4 separate regions of the Homo sapiens genome follow, and regions 1, 2 and 3 are each linked to region 4. Evidence: promoter capture Hi-C in human tissues and cell types (Jung and others, 2019). All regions are on one chromosome and are shown on one strand. The core of a region is centred on a gene start or on the middle of the fragment in contact, and the rest is flanking DNA. Distances in the headings are between cores, read along the strand shown. Region 1 holds the start of DNAJB7 (DnaJ heat shock protein family (Hsp40) member B7). Region 2 overlaps SLC25A17 (solute carrier family 25 member 17). Region 3 holds the start of RBX1 (ring-box 1). Region 4 holds the start of POLR3H (RNA polymerase III subunit H).

The links. The method cuts DNA at HindIII sites, captures the fragments that hold promoters and counts their contacts. A contact is called where the count stands out against the background at its distance.
Region 1: the fragment with the promoter of DNAJB7 here is called in contact with the fragment with the promoter of POLR3H in region 4 in 1 of the 25 tissues and cell types used here (dorsolateral prefrontal cortex).
Region 2: a fragment that was not itself captured here is called in contact with the fragment with the promoter of POLR3H in region 4 in 2 of the 25 tissues and cell types used here (dorsolateral prefrontal cortex and hippocampus).
Region 3: the fragment with the promoter of RBX1 here is called in contact with the fragment with the promoter of POLR3H in region 4 in 2 of the 25 tissues and cell types used here (dorsolateral prefrontal cortex and spleen).

The regions. Positions count from the first base shown.
Region 1 is chr22:40,860,863-40,864,113 of GRCh38, forward strand. It overlaps DNAJB7 (DnaJ heat shock protein family (Hsp40) member B7), which reads right to left and starts at 1,251. Exons shown (of 1, transcript NM_145174.2): 1 at 1-1,251. The coding sequence starts at 1,132. The coding sequence ends at 203. All of the region lies in intron 1 of XPNPEP3 (X-prolyl aminopeptidase 3), which reads left to right. The HindIII fragment of the contact is 4,259 bases long and covers 1-3,251 here.
Region 2 is chr22:40,809,171-40,812,121 of GRCh38, forward strand. The region is part of intron 1 of SLC25A17 (solute carrier family 25 member 17); the gene reads right to left. Among named protein-coding and RNA genes, the nearest start is that of MIR4766, 3.3 kb to the right of the region's middle. The HindIII fragment of the contact is 9,431 bases long and covers 1-2,951 here.
Region 3 is chr22:40,949,844-40,952,931 of GRCh38, forward strand. It overlaps RBX1 (ring-box 1), which reads left to right and starts at 1,535. Exons shown (of 5, transcript NM_014248.4): 1 at 1,535-1,633. The coding sequence starts at 1,556. RefSeq lists enhancers at 497-1,087, 1,602-1,811, 2,267-2,855 and a silencer at 972-1,551. The HindIII fragment of the contact is 18,244 bases long and covers 1-3,088 here.
Region 4 is chr22:41,542,759-41,545,720 of GRCh38, forward strand. It overlaps POLR3H (RNA polymerase III subunit H), which reads right to left and starts at 1,712. Exons shown (of 6, transcript NM_001018050.4): 1 at 1,233-1,712. The coding sequence starts at 1,343. RefSeq lists enhancers at 1,073-1,910, 1,233-1,332, 1,343-1,432 and silencers at 1,483-1,612, 1,803-1,902. The HindIII fragment of the contact is 26,348 bases long and covers 1-2,962 here.

The sequences.
Region 1 (3,251 bases), core at 1-2,500, 680 kb before region 4:
CAAATTCTTATTAGCACCAACTGTCACCACAAACTCATCCTTTTCTGACATACCCATTCAAAAAAACTACTAACCAAATGTCCACAATCCTGCTAAAAGTGTTGAAAAGCTCTTAGTATAGTATTAAGTGTTATCTACAAAATTTGTGATTAACCAAAACACACACAATTGTGTTCAAATGTTATATATTTGAAGAGTCAATTTAACAATTCCTTTTGGTAGACTTCTTTTGCACCTCTTTACGCTTCTTTTTTTTCCTCTTACCACCCTCTTTGACTCCTGCTGAGAAAATAGGGGGATCTCTGTTGCTGGTAACCCAAGATATACCTCCCTCATCATTGTCCACGAAAGTATATTGAGATACATGTTTGGAGCTGTGAGAATTTGGTGAATAGTTGTTGAATGACTGTGTTCTCCAGCTGCATTCTTTTGCAAAGCCCTCTTCATTGGCCACACTATTTACAAGAAAAAATGTCAACTCTCCATTATCTTCAGCTTCTCTTTCTTGATCACTTTCAATAATTTTCTTTGTATTAATATTTCTGCCATTAACGATTTTGTCTGAAGTTGTAACAGATATGTAGTTGTCCATCCCACTATTATCAAAAGCCAGGGAAGAGAAAGAAGTAAGGCCTTCATGCCCCAATGAACCCTGTGATGTATATCCTGTATCATATGAAGAAAATTTCTCAAAAATTGGATATTCACTGGCAGTGGAGAAAAAGTATCCTGCATCTCTGTTTCTGTTTCCATAGGAGCTTCCTGGACGATTTAACAGGTCCTCAAGCGAGTCTTCAAAGAAGTGAAAAGAAAATGGATCCCTTTCATGAAAAATTTCTTTAAAAACATCATCTGGCTTATGGAATGTGAAGCCGTACTCACATTCATCATCAAAATGACTTCCACCTCCGTTTAATCCTTCTGTGCCATATTTATCATAAATGTCCCGTTTCTCATCATTTGATAATACCTCGTATGCCTCAGCTACTTCTTTGAATTTTCTCTCTGCTTCTTCTTTATTTTCTGGATTTTTATCAGGGTGCCATTTAAGTGCCACTTTATGATAAGCTTTTTTAATGTCCTCAGGTGAAGCATATCTTTGCAGTCCTAGAACTTCATAGTAATCCACCATGTTTTAACAGATAGTTGGAAGTGGGTGTGCTGGGTATTGAGAACCGTGGTTTCCTCAGCTCAGGCTCTGCTGGTGGTGGTGATAGAGGTAGTGACTGCAAATAGGTACACTTTTATGTTAAAGACAATGTTATTACCATGTGCTAAGAGATGAGGATACTGATTATGTGGCAAGCAGAGTTACAAATATGTCAGAGAGGGCTGCATTATGGTGTCATTCTGGGGTCAGTGTAGGGACTGGACCTTCCAAATAGAGCTAGTCCAGAGTCGTACCAGACCATCCTGAATCCTCTGGACTGTTTCCCCTGTATGTTTCCCTGGAAGCTTCAGGCAGTGCCTCATAAGCCAATGGAATCTGTTGCTAATAGCCACAGCATATCCCTTGCATAATATGACCTCTAGATTACTGCGCCTTAATTGCTTCCCAGCTCTTCTATGCTTTGGTTTAGAAAAATGAAGTACTGACTTACGGGTGAAGAAAGTATTCAAACAGTTGACATATTTATTTCAGTCAAGAAACAGTTCAGAGGGAGATACAAACAAGTAACTTAGTTACAATATAATAGTTATGATGAGAGGAAGTACTGGATGCTAAACAATTATATGAGAGACAGCTCAGGCTGGGGGTGTCAATGAAAGCCTCTTGGAGGAAGTAGCCTGATATGTTAACTTTCTGCATGCCAGTGGTAAGTCATTTGAGATTATAGTATCTTTGTCCACCCAAGGTTTACTGCTGTAAAACATGTAATTAAAGATTTGGAAAGTTGTGTGTTTATGTATTCACTGTATAATTATTGATTGTCTACTTTGTGCCAGGCACCGTTTTAGCCACTGGTGATAGCAGTATTGAACAAAAGACACCAGTTTTCCTGGTGCTTGCATTATAATAGAATACAAATAGGAGAACAAATAAAATAATTTAAGATAATGCGATATGTGCTCCAAAAAAAATAGCAATGTGCTGGGGGCAGAGCGCTACTTTAGATTGGTTTTAGAAGGCTTCTGAGGAGATGACATTATTGCTGAGACCTATATGACAGTCAGCCACATAGTGATCTAATATGGTAGCCACTGGCCATGTTGATGGACATTTTGGTTGTTGCCAGTTGGGGCTGTTGGACATAAAGCTAGCACTTATTTCAAGTACAGTGGGAAGCCTTTGTGGGGAGTGGGGAATATGCAAGTTTAATGATGTGATTTACATTTGTAATGGATCAGTGGCTACTATTTGGAAATTCAGTCATGTATGGGAAAGTAGAATTCGAGAGCCAAATTAGAAACAGACCAAAGGTGATTTTCTTTGGGGATAAACTACCAGTAGTCTAGACCCGAATTTAAAGGTCTTATATTCTATACCTGGCTCATTTTATTGTCTGAGAAAATTCCCTGTAATCTTTGTTTTTCCTCCTCTATGTTGTGTTTATTTTATTTTCCATCACATTTATAACCCCTCAGTTAAATGATACGCTAATGAAATCTAAAACTGTAGTGTATGCTTCTAGTCTTTCAAGACCATTTGTCAGGTCTGAATATTTTTTTGCTTTGCATTTTTATATATACTCATTTTTTAGAGGTATTGTGAAATGCTTAAAACTCAATTTAAATTCTCTCCAGTGTATGTGCTTACATGTACTTATGTGTGGCTTACCCATGATTATAATTTGCCTACCACTGGAAATAATAACCAATAATGTCGAAAATTATTTGAGTACCCTCTGAGTCACACTGTAGCAAGTGCTCATTTAACTGACACAGCACTCTAGCAAAATAAATATTTTATGCCCATAAGAAAACAGACGTTCTGAGAGAGAAAGTAATTTGTCTAAGGCTACATAGCTTGTTAGTGAAAAATCTGATTTTTAAACTTGAGTCTAATTTCAAGTTCTCATTCCACTCTACTGCATTTCTCGGACTAGGACTTAAAGAGTTTAGGTTCTAGGCATTCCACAAACAGATACTGAGAACCTGCTGTTACCGGAAAGGGGTCCCAATCCAGACCCCAAGAGATGGTTCTTGGATCTCGTGCAAGAAAGAATTTCAGTGGAATCCACAGAGTAAAGTAAAAGCAAGTTTATTAAGAAAGTAAAGGAATAAAGAATGGCTACTCCATAGGCAGAGCA
Region 2 (2,951 bases), core at 315-2,814, 730 kb before region 4:
TGTATTTTTAATGATTTTTAATGAATTAACAAATATCTTGGCCGGGCTCAGTGGCTCATGCCTGTAATCCTAGCACTTTGGGAGGGCGAGGTAGGAAGACTGCTTGAGGCCAAGAGTTCAAGACCACCATGGCCAACAACATAGACCACATCTCTTTAAAAAAACAAACAAACAAAAAGGCTCACACCTGTAACCCCACTTTGGGAGGCCGAGGTGGGCGGATTGCTTGAGCCCAGGAGTTCGAGACCAGCCTGAGCAACATGGTGAAACATGTAGAAACCCAGTCTCTACAAAAAAATTAAAAAAAAAAAAATTAGCCAGCGTGGTGGTGCACGCCTGTAATCCCAGCTACTTGGGAAGCTGAAGTGGGAGAATTGCTTGAGCCTGGGCTGTTGGGGCTACAGTAAGCTGAGATTGTGCCACTGCACTCCAGCCTGGGTACACAGTGAGACCCTGTCTCAAAAAAAAAACCAAAAAACAAAACCAAATATCTCAATGATTTCTCAGTTTTAATTTCTAACACAATAATATTGATTGTTATAACCACATAAGCAAGACTCTGGGGTTGGTGAAAATTTTTAGGAGTGTGAATGGGTCCTATGAGTATAGTTTGAACAGAGGCCATTAACTACAAAAAAAATACATTATTAACAAACTTCATTATTATATACTATCATCTAACCTGACATCATCACACTACCTCTGGGTTGGCCACTGTCCTTTCCAGGAAAACTCTATAAAAAGGTAAATACCTCCAGGAAGCTATATATTATATAGGATATTAATTATATCCTACAATTAATGTCTTACAGATGATCATTTATTAGGGTTTTTTTAAAATGATGGGCTGTGATATTATGATGCAAAGTATATATCTGGTCCTCATCCTAGGCTCCTGACACAGAGCTCCTGGTAAAATTCTTGTAATTTCCTGAATGATAGGAATGTCTTTTGTTATAATAGTGTCTTAGTCCCTGGTTCCTGATACAAGAGCATCCAAGACCCTTGGAATCTCCAGAGTGCTAACAGTGTCTTTTTGTATACTGGTGGTCCCTATCTTTTAGTGCATTAATTGCATCTTCAGCTGTATCTAATATGTTCAGAAATCTGTGCTTGAATCTGAACATATCACTAAGCTTCAACAATTAACAAATTCATAGCTATGCATTAAATATTCTTTTTTTTTTTTTTTTTGAGACAGAGTTTCACTCTTGTTGCCCAGGCTGGAGTGCAATGGCGTAATCTCAGCTCACTGCAACCTCCGCCTCCCGGGTTCAAGTGATTCTCCTGCCTCAGCCTCCTGAGTAGCTGGGATTACAGGCATGCGCCACTACGCCCGGCTGATTTTGAGTTTTTAGTAGAGACACGGTTTCTCCATGTTGGTCAGGCTAGCCTCAAACTCCCAACCTCAGGTGATCCGCCCACCTTGGCCTCCCAGAGTGCTAGGATTACAGGCGTAAGCCACCGAGCATTAAATATTCTAATAGTAAATTTTTAATCGATCAAAGCAAAGCATGCACATAGTTTAAAAAATCACATAGTATAAATGACAAAATATAGCAGTTTTTGCCCCACTCCTCTCTATTTTATCCAATCTTCCTTCAGAGAGGCAATTAAATTCTTCTAGTTGTTTGTTTTGGAATTTATACATCTCCATATAATAATATACTGATATCTTATTAATCATTTTTAGACATTATTTACATTCTCTTATGGGGAATGAGAATTCAGCTCTCTTATACCACATTCCCTCTTTTTTTGTGGTTATTGTTTTGAGACAGGGTCTCACTCTATTGCCCTGGCTGGAGTGCAGTGGCACAATCTCAGCTCACTGCAACCTCCACCTCTGGGTGGAGGTCAATTAATCCTCTCACCTCAGCCTCCCAGGTAGCTGGGACCACAGACGTGAGCCACCACACCCAGCTAATTTTTGTATTTTTTGTAGAGACAGGGTTTTGCCATGTTGCCCAGGCTGGTCTTGAATCCCTCTCTTTATTCTCTCCATCCTTCTAATAGTTAAGATTTTTGCTTAAATCAATATTCAGTGTTCCCATGATTATCATGTATTAACTTTTATTTTTAATTTTTGTTTTTTTTTTTAGTAGAGATGCGGTTTCACTGTGTTGGTCAAGCTGGTCTCAAACCCCTGGCCTCGAGTGATCTACCCGTCTCAGACTCCCGAAGTGCTGGGATTACAGGAGTGAGTCAATGAGCCTGGCCAATCGTGCAGTAACTTTTAAATTGTAGTCATTTTATTTCTAGATTTCTTTTTTTTTTGAGACAGGGTCTCATTCTGTCGCCCAGGCTGGAGTGCAGTGGTGCAATCGTGGCTCACTGCAACCTTGGCTTCCCAGACTCAAGTGATTCTCCAGCCTCAGACTCCTGAGTAGCTGAGACTACAGGTATGAGCCAGCACAGTGCTGGCATCTGCTTCTGGTGAGGGCCTCAGGTGGCTTATGATCATGGTGGAAGGTGAAAGGGGAACAGGTATGTCACATGGTAAGAGAGGGAGTAAGAGAGAGAGGCGTGGGTACCAGGCTCTTTTAAATAACCAGCTCTCCCATGAACTAACAGTGAGAACTCACTCATCACCAAGGGGATGGCACCAAGCCATTTATGAGGGATCTGCCCCCATGACCCAAACACCTCCCACTAGGCCTCACCTCCAACACTGGGGGTCACATTTCAACATGAGATTTGGAGGGGTCAAACATCCAAACTGAGATTTGGAGGGGTCAAACATCCAAACTGTATCAGTCACATAAACGATTTTTAGCCTAAGTTCTTGGGGATTTGGGGGTTCCTCTTTTTTGTGAACAATTCTGAACTGACACCTGGATTTCTTTCTTTTTCTCTTTTTCTTTCTCTCTCTCTCTCTCTCTCTTTCTTTTTAACTTATTTATTTTTAGAGATGAGGTCTCACTACATTGCCCAGGCTGGTCTCAAACTCC
Region 3 (3,088 bases), core at 285-2,784, 590 kb before region 4:
TCCCAAAGTGGCTCCCAGGCGTGAGCCACCGCGCCCAGCCTATTCTTTCTCTTTAGCAATAGAGTCAGCACGCTCCATTACCCGCCAGTTATCTTTTAAGAGAAAATACAAGGCTTCAAATGCACCTGTACGACATCTAAGAGTGCTCTGGCAGAGTCACACCTCTGCAAGGTTAGAGATGTCAAAGGGAGTCCTGGTCTAGCCAGAAATGGGAGAGTGACAAAGTACAGGTGCTTGGGTCGGGTGGGATGGCTCACTCCTGTGATCCCAGCACTTTGGGAGGCCGAAGTGGGAGGATCACTTGGGCCCAGGAGTTCGAGACCAGCCTAGGCAACATAGTGAGACCTTGTCTCTATTTTTTAAAAAAATTAAAAAAGAAAAAAAAAAAAAGCGGCTCTAGCACTTTGGGAGGCCGAGGCAGGCGGATCACCTGAGGTCAGGAGTTCGGGACCAGCCTGGCTAACGTGGTGAAACCCCGTTTCTACTAAAAATACAAAAAATTAGCCGGGCGTGGTGGCGGGCGCCTGTAATCTCAGCTACTCGGGAGGCTGAGGCAGGAGAATCGCTTGAATCCTGGAGGCGGAGGTTGCAGTGGGCCGAAATCGCGCCATTACACTCCAGCCTGGGCAACAAGAGTTAAAAAAGAATGCCTCACAAAAATTCAAGAAATACAGCGACTGCAGATGGGTCGGTTTCACTACAGCACAAGCAGCGGAAAAAGGACACAGATCGGGGAGAAATCACCCTACAAAGATGACAACTGAGGAATGCGGAGTGGGGACTGACACACGTTACGGTGAAACCGTGCACCACGACCAAAGGCGGTCCTAGGACTGCGACTATGTGGGCGCAGAGGCCACCCCCCAGGCTTGGCGGGCGAGTAAAGGCAGGGCTGGGGGCCTGCTCAGTGTGGCCTTAGGGAGGAACTTCGGGGGTCTCCTCTCTCCCCATCGAATCCCTGAGCAGTTCCCGAACAGAAATCGGAGACCAGACGGTGCCTGGGCCCCAGCCCTCCCACGGGGACTGCACCTTGGGCCTGGCTCGGAAGCGGGTCAGAGTCTGCGAAAGACCAGCGAGGACTCTTGGGTTTCGGGGCAGGCCGCGGGCGCCCACCCACGCCAGCACCGGGAGCCGCGCGGCGACTCGGCGAGCCCGGCAGGCAGGACAGGACTGCGGCGCAGGTCTGGCTCAGGCGGAGGAAGCAGCCGCCGCCCCAGCTGACGGAGTGCGGCCGGGGGCTTCCCAGAGGAGGCGGCGACGTCGAGCCCTTTCGAACGTTTCCACCCGGCTAGCTCACGTAGCCTCGGCCCCGCCCGGCCCCGCCCGGCCCCGCCCCACCCACTCCGGCCACCGCCCCCTCCCCGGCCTACAGTTCGCGGGTGGGGCGACCTGCGACAGCCCCTTTAAGAGGCGTGGTCACGTGCTCCGCCCCCACCTCCGCCTCGCGCGCCAGTAAGGGGTGGGGTGCGGGAGGAGGTGCCGGGGAGGTGGGGGGAGCGAAGTGTGCGCTGCTGCGCAGGCGCGGTGGTCGGACGACAGACCGTGTGTTTCCAAAATGGCGGCAGCGATGGATGTGGATACCCCGAGCGGCACCAACAGCGGCGCGGGCAAGAAGCGCTTTGAAGTGAAAAAGGTTGGGTCTCGCCAGCGCCTTCCTCAGGGAAGCTAGAGAGGCGCGGATCTGGCTGGCAGGCCCGAGGATGGTCGAGGCGCGGAGTAAAGGGTTTCATTTCAGGGCGTTCCTGGGACCGGGTACCACGAAAGGAAGCCGGGGGGCGGGTCTTAGAGTTGATCGGCGTGACGGCGGCCCACTGTTGGGGGAAGTGTTGGTTTCGCTGTGAGGCTAAGGGGCCAATCACAGAGCTGCTTATTGAGATACGCGGGGTTGCGACTTGGCGGCGGGAGCCAAGCGCTTGAGCTGTCACTGGAGTGGTTGAGAGGTGGGGGAAGGACAGGGTAGGGTGGGGTGGGGTGGGTGGAATGGGGAGTCGAAGCGAATGCGGCGGTGGAGGATGGGGCAGTGCGGCGAGAGCCTGGAACCTGAGGTCCTACCGCATTAGAGGCCTCTGAGGACCCCCCTTGGTGATCTTGCTCCGCCCCTTTTTGAAGCTTGGGGTCCTCTCACTTGGAGGGGTCCTCTCACTTGGAGGGATCCTCGCTGAACCGAGGCCTCACACTGCCTGGTTAGAGTCTGGAGTGTAATGCTTGGCTCTTCTGAGACGTCTGTTGGCTTTTCACACAACCACCCCACTCTTGGGTTCTCTGTCACGTCCAGAATCTCCCCCTTCCAAAATAATAATAAAAAGCATGGTGGAACTTGTTAAGAAAATCCGAGCCCAAATCCTGTGGCAGTTAGGGAGGGTTGAGTACTAGTCGCGAACGACTTGGTAAGCGTGGGAAAGCAAAAATGGAACGTGTCTTTTTGCATGAAATGCCTTTTAGTGGTTTGCCACAGTTTGGGAGAACAGTATCGATTCTCACCTAACATGAAAGCTGTTCAAAATGGAGATTCTAAAATAGGGAAGATATTCCTAGAACATCTGGCTAAACACTGACAATATCCCCCGTCCTAGTGCTTTTTGGTGTCTCATTGTGGCCACTGCTGCTCAGTTACAGCCAGCAGCCATATTGAAAAATAATAGAAGTAGGGGCTTTTCCTCCACCTTGAAGCTGTGATGTGAAAAGTGGTAAAGAAGTTACTAGGCACTGAGAATGGGGTTTGAAAGCGAAGAAGGTTTGGGAGTATTTGTAATTGAGGAAGCCAGAGTTGAATGAATGAAATTCTGTTAAACTCTTACTGGAATTATTATCTTAATAGAAGAGTCTAAACATATAAAAGTTGAGAACATCAGTTTATTTTATGGTAAGAATCAAAATTCTAGTGAATTGTAGAATTTGTTATGAAGTAATCTAAGATTTAAGTGATGACCTTGTTCTGTGTACTGACACGGGTATTTAATTATCCAGCTTATCCCATGATTACCCATTTTATGATCCAGTCATTATCTTAGTTCATTCTGTTCTCTAGCTTTCACTTCATTGCTCATGCTTCCAGAGCTGTGTAGAGCAGATACTTATTCAGATTTTG
Region 4 (2,962 bases), core at 462-2,961:
TTGGGAGGCTGAGGCAGGCAGATCACCTGAGGTCAGAAGTTTGAGACCAGCCTGGCCAACATGGTGAAACCCCGTCTCTACTAAAAGTACAAAAATTAGCCAGGTGTGGTGGCAGGTGCCTGTAATCCCAGCTACTCAGGAGGCTGAAGCAGAAGAATAGCTTGAACCTGGGAGGTGGAGGTTGCAGTGAGCCAAGATCGCTTCATTGCACCCCAGCCTGGGCGACAAGAGCGGCACTCTTGTCTCACACACACAAACACAAAACAGAAAATTATGGGACATCTACTCCCGCCAGGCTTTGGCTAAATGAGGGGATACTTCAGGGAAGAAGGCAGATAAGGTCCCTGCTCTCAAGGAGAGGGAAAGGAAAAAGTCTAAGAAGGAAAGAGAGTGATGTGACACAGAATACCTGGAAAGGGAGGACTGTCAAAGAAACGGCAGTGGGAAGACCTCTCAGCTGGTACTAAGGCACACAGGCACAGCACAGAGAAGGCGCACAAATATTGGCTGCTGGAATGAAGGGATGAACCTCCTGACAGTTAATTCTGTACTACTAGAACTCTCCATCTTCACGAAAACAATGCATTGACCCGAGGCGATGGCGCACACCTGTAATCCCAGCACTTTGGGAGGCCGAGGCGGGGGGATCAAGAGATCGAGACCATCCTGGCCAAAATGGTGAAACCCCGTCTCTACGAAAAATACAAAAATTAGCTGGGGGTGGTGGCGCGCGCCTGTAGTTGTCCCAGCTACTCGGGAGGCTGGGGCAGGAGAATCGCTTGAACCCGGGAGGCGGAGGTTGCAGTGAGCCGAGATCGCGCCACTGCACTCCAGCCTGGACGAAAGAGCAAGACTCCGTCTCAAAAACAAAAAACAAAACAAAACAAAACAAACAACAACAACAACAAAAACAATGCATGGCTGGAAGGACAGCAATATTTTATCCCCATTTTAAAAATGGAAACTGAGGCCCAGAAGGGGTCAGTAACTTGCCTGCAATTGCAAAGTAATTTAGAATTGTGGAATCTAACACTTCCAGTTACAACTCCCTTTTTCAAGCCCATTTTCTTTTGATCCCCTTCAATATCTCCTTTCACGGTGAAGAAAAGTTCTGAGACATTAAGCTGCTTGCCCACGGCCAGGGCTTGGCATGACCGAGGCCGGGCCTGCGGCCAGTGGGCGGCGCTCGCTCTCCCACGCCAAGGCCTGCCCGCGAGCCGTGGGCCCAGTACCTTGTTGGCCAACTTCTTGTTCAGCTCCTCGGCAATGGAGTCGTTGAGCTTCCTCTCAAACTGCCAAGGGGGGATCCGGACGGTGTCCACCATTTCCACCAGGACGAACATCCCGGCCTGCGCTGGGGGCTCTGGGAACAGGAGGGTCAGTCACGCACCAGGGCCGGGGGCAGGGAGAATCCCCGAGCCCCTTGGTCCCGTCCCAGTCGCTGAGGCCCCCAGGCTGGCGGTGAGGTTGCACGGGGCGGTCTCGGGGGCCCGGTCCGGGCCATGCTCCGCTACTACAACATGAGGAAACTGAGGCCAGAGGGAGGCACTCTCCGTCCACAGCTCCGGGTGCGCGCCCGCGCCGCGAGACCCCGCCACGCCACGCCACTCCACGCCACGCCACTCCACGCCCCGCACCCGCGCCACGTGCCGCCGCTCGTATCACGCACCACGCACCACGCACCGCGCACAGCCGCTCGCGCTTGCGCGACTGCGGGCGAGATTCCGAATCCATCGCTTCCGGAAAACTCACCAATAAGAAACCTCTGTCCACCCCCACCCCGCCGAGGCGGGGCGGGGCTGCCTGTGTGCTCGCGCACAGCGTGGGGCAGAGAGAGGGCGAGGAGAGGGCGGGGCCTCCTCCTTTCACAGGAGCAGAGCGGTTCCCCCGCCCCCGACAGCGCTTTCTGTTGCTAGGCGACCTCCGTGCAATCCCGCCTGATTATCCCTCGCCTGGCCTGTGCTTTACCCGCATTGCTGTCCTCTGCTCGGCAGCCAGAGTGATCCTTTGGAAACGCAAACATATATTACCACATCTAAGTTAAAAAAAAAACCCACCGCAAACATAACATGCTTAGCACCCTTAAGTGTTCCGGAGACAAGGAGAATTAGCAGGAAAGGGGCACTTGGGACTGTTCTGAGATGATGGAAATGTTCTGTATTTTGTTTTCGGTGGTATAACATTGACGTATATAATTGTCCAAACTAATTGAACTCGGCAAGATTTTTGCATTTATTTGTAGACATTATGTTCCAATTGAAAAGTTATAATAAATTGGAACAAAAAACACAACCCATTGAACTTAGAATACTAGATCCAAGCCGGGCGTGGTGGTGTACACCCGTAGTCCCACCTACTCAGAAGCCTGAGACAGCAGCATCGCTTGAGTCCAGGAGTTTGAGGTTGCAGTTTGAGGTTGCATGCTGCACTCTAGCATGGGTGACAGTGACACCTCATGTCTAAACGAAAAAGAAGAAGAAGGAGAGGCGGAAGAAGAAGAAAGAAGAAGGAGAAGAAGAAGAAGAAAGAAGAAAGAAAAGGGAAAGAAGAAAGAAAAGAAGAAAGAAAGAAGAAAAGTCCAAAACCTTTATGGTAGTTCACACGGCCCTGCAAGATCTGACCATACCCCCCTCCTATAGCCCCATCATGCTCTGTCTCGCTGACATTCCAGTCTCATTCATCTTCACGTGATAGCATGGGCTAAGAGAATTTGGTAGCTTACCCAAGATCACGTGTTGACAAGTGGTAGAGGTGGGCCCAGTCTGAACCTCACTACCCTGCCTCTAAAAATTGGTGGGGTGTAGATGTATACTGTAGTGGGTTTTTTTGTTTGTTTGTTTGTTTGAGACGGAGGATCGCTCTGTCGCCCAGGCTGGAGTGCAGTGGCGCGATCTTGGCTCACTGCAAGCTCCGCCTCTCGGGTTCACGCCATTCTCCTGCCTTAGCCTCCCGAGTAGCTGAG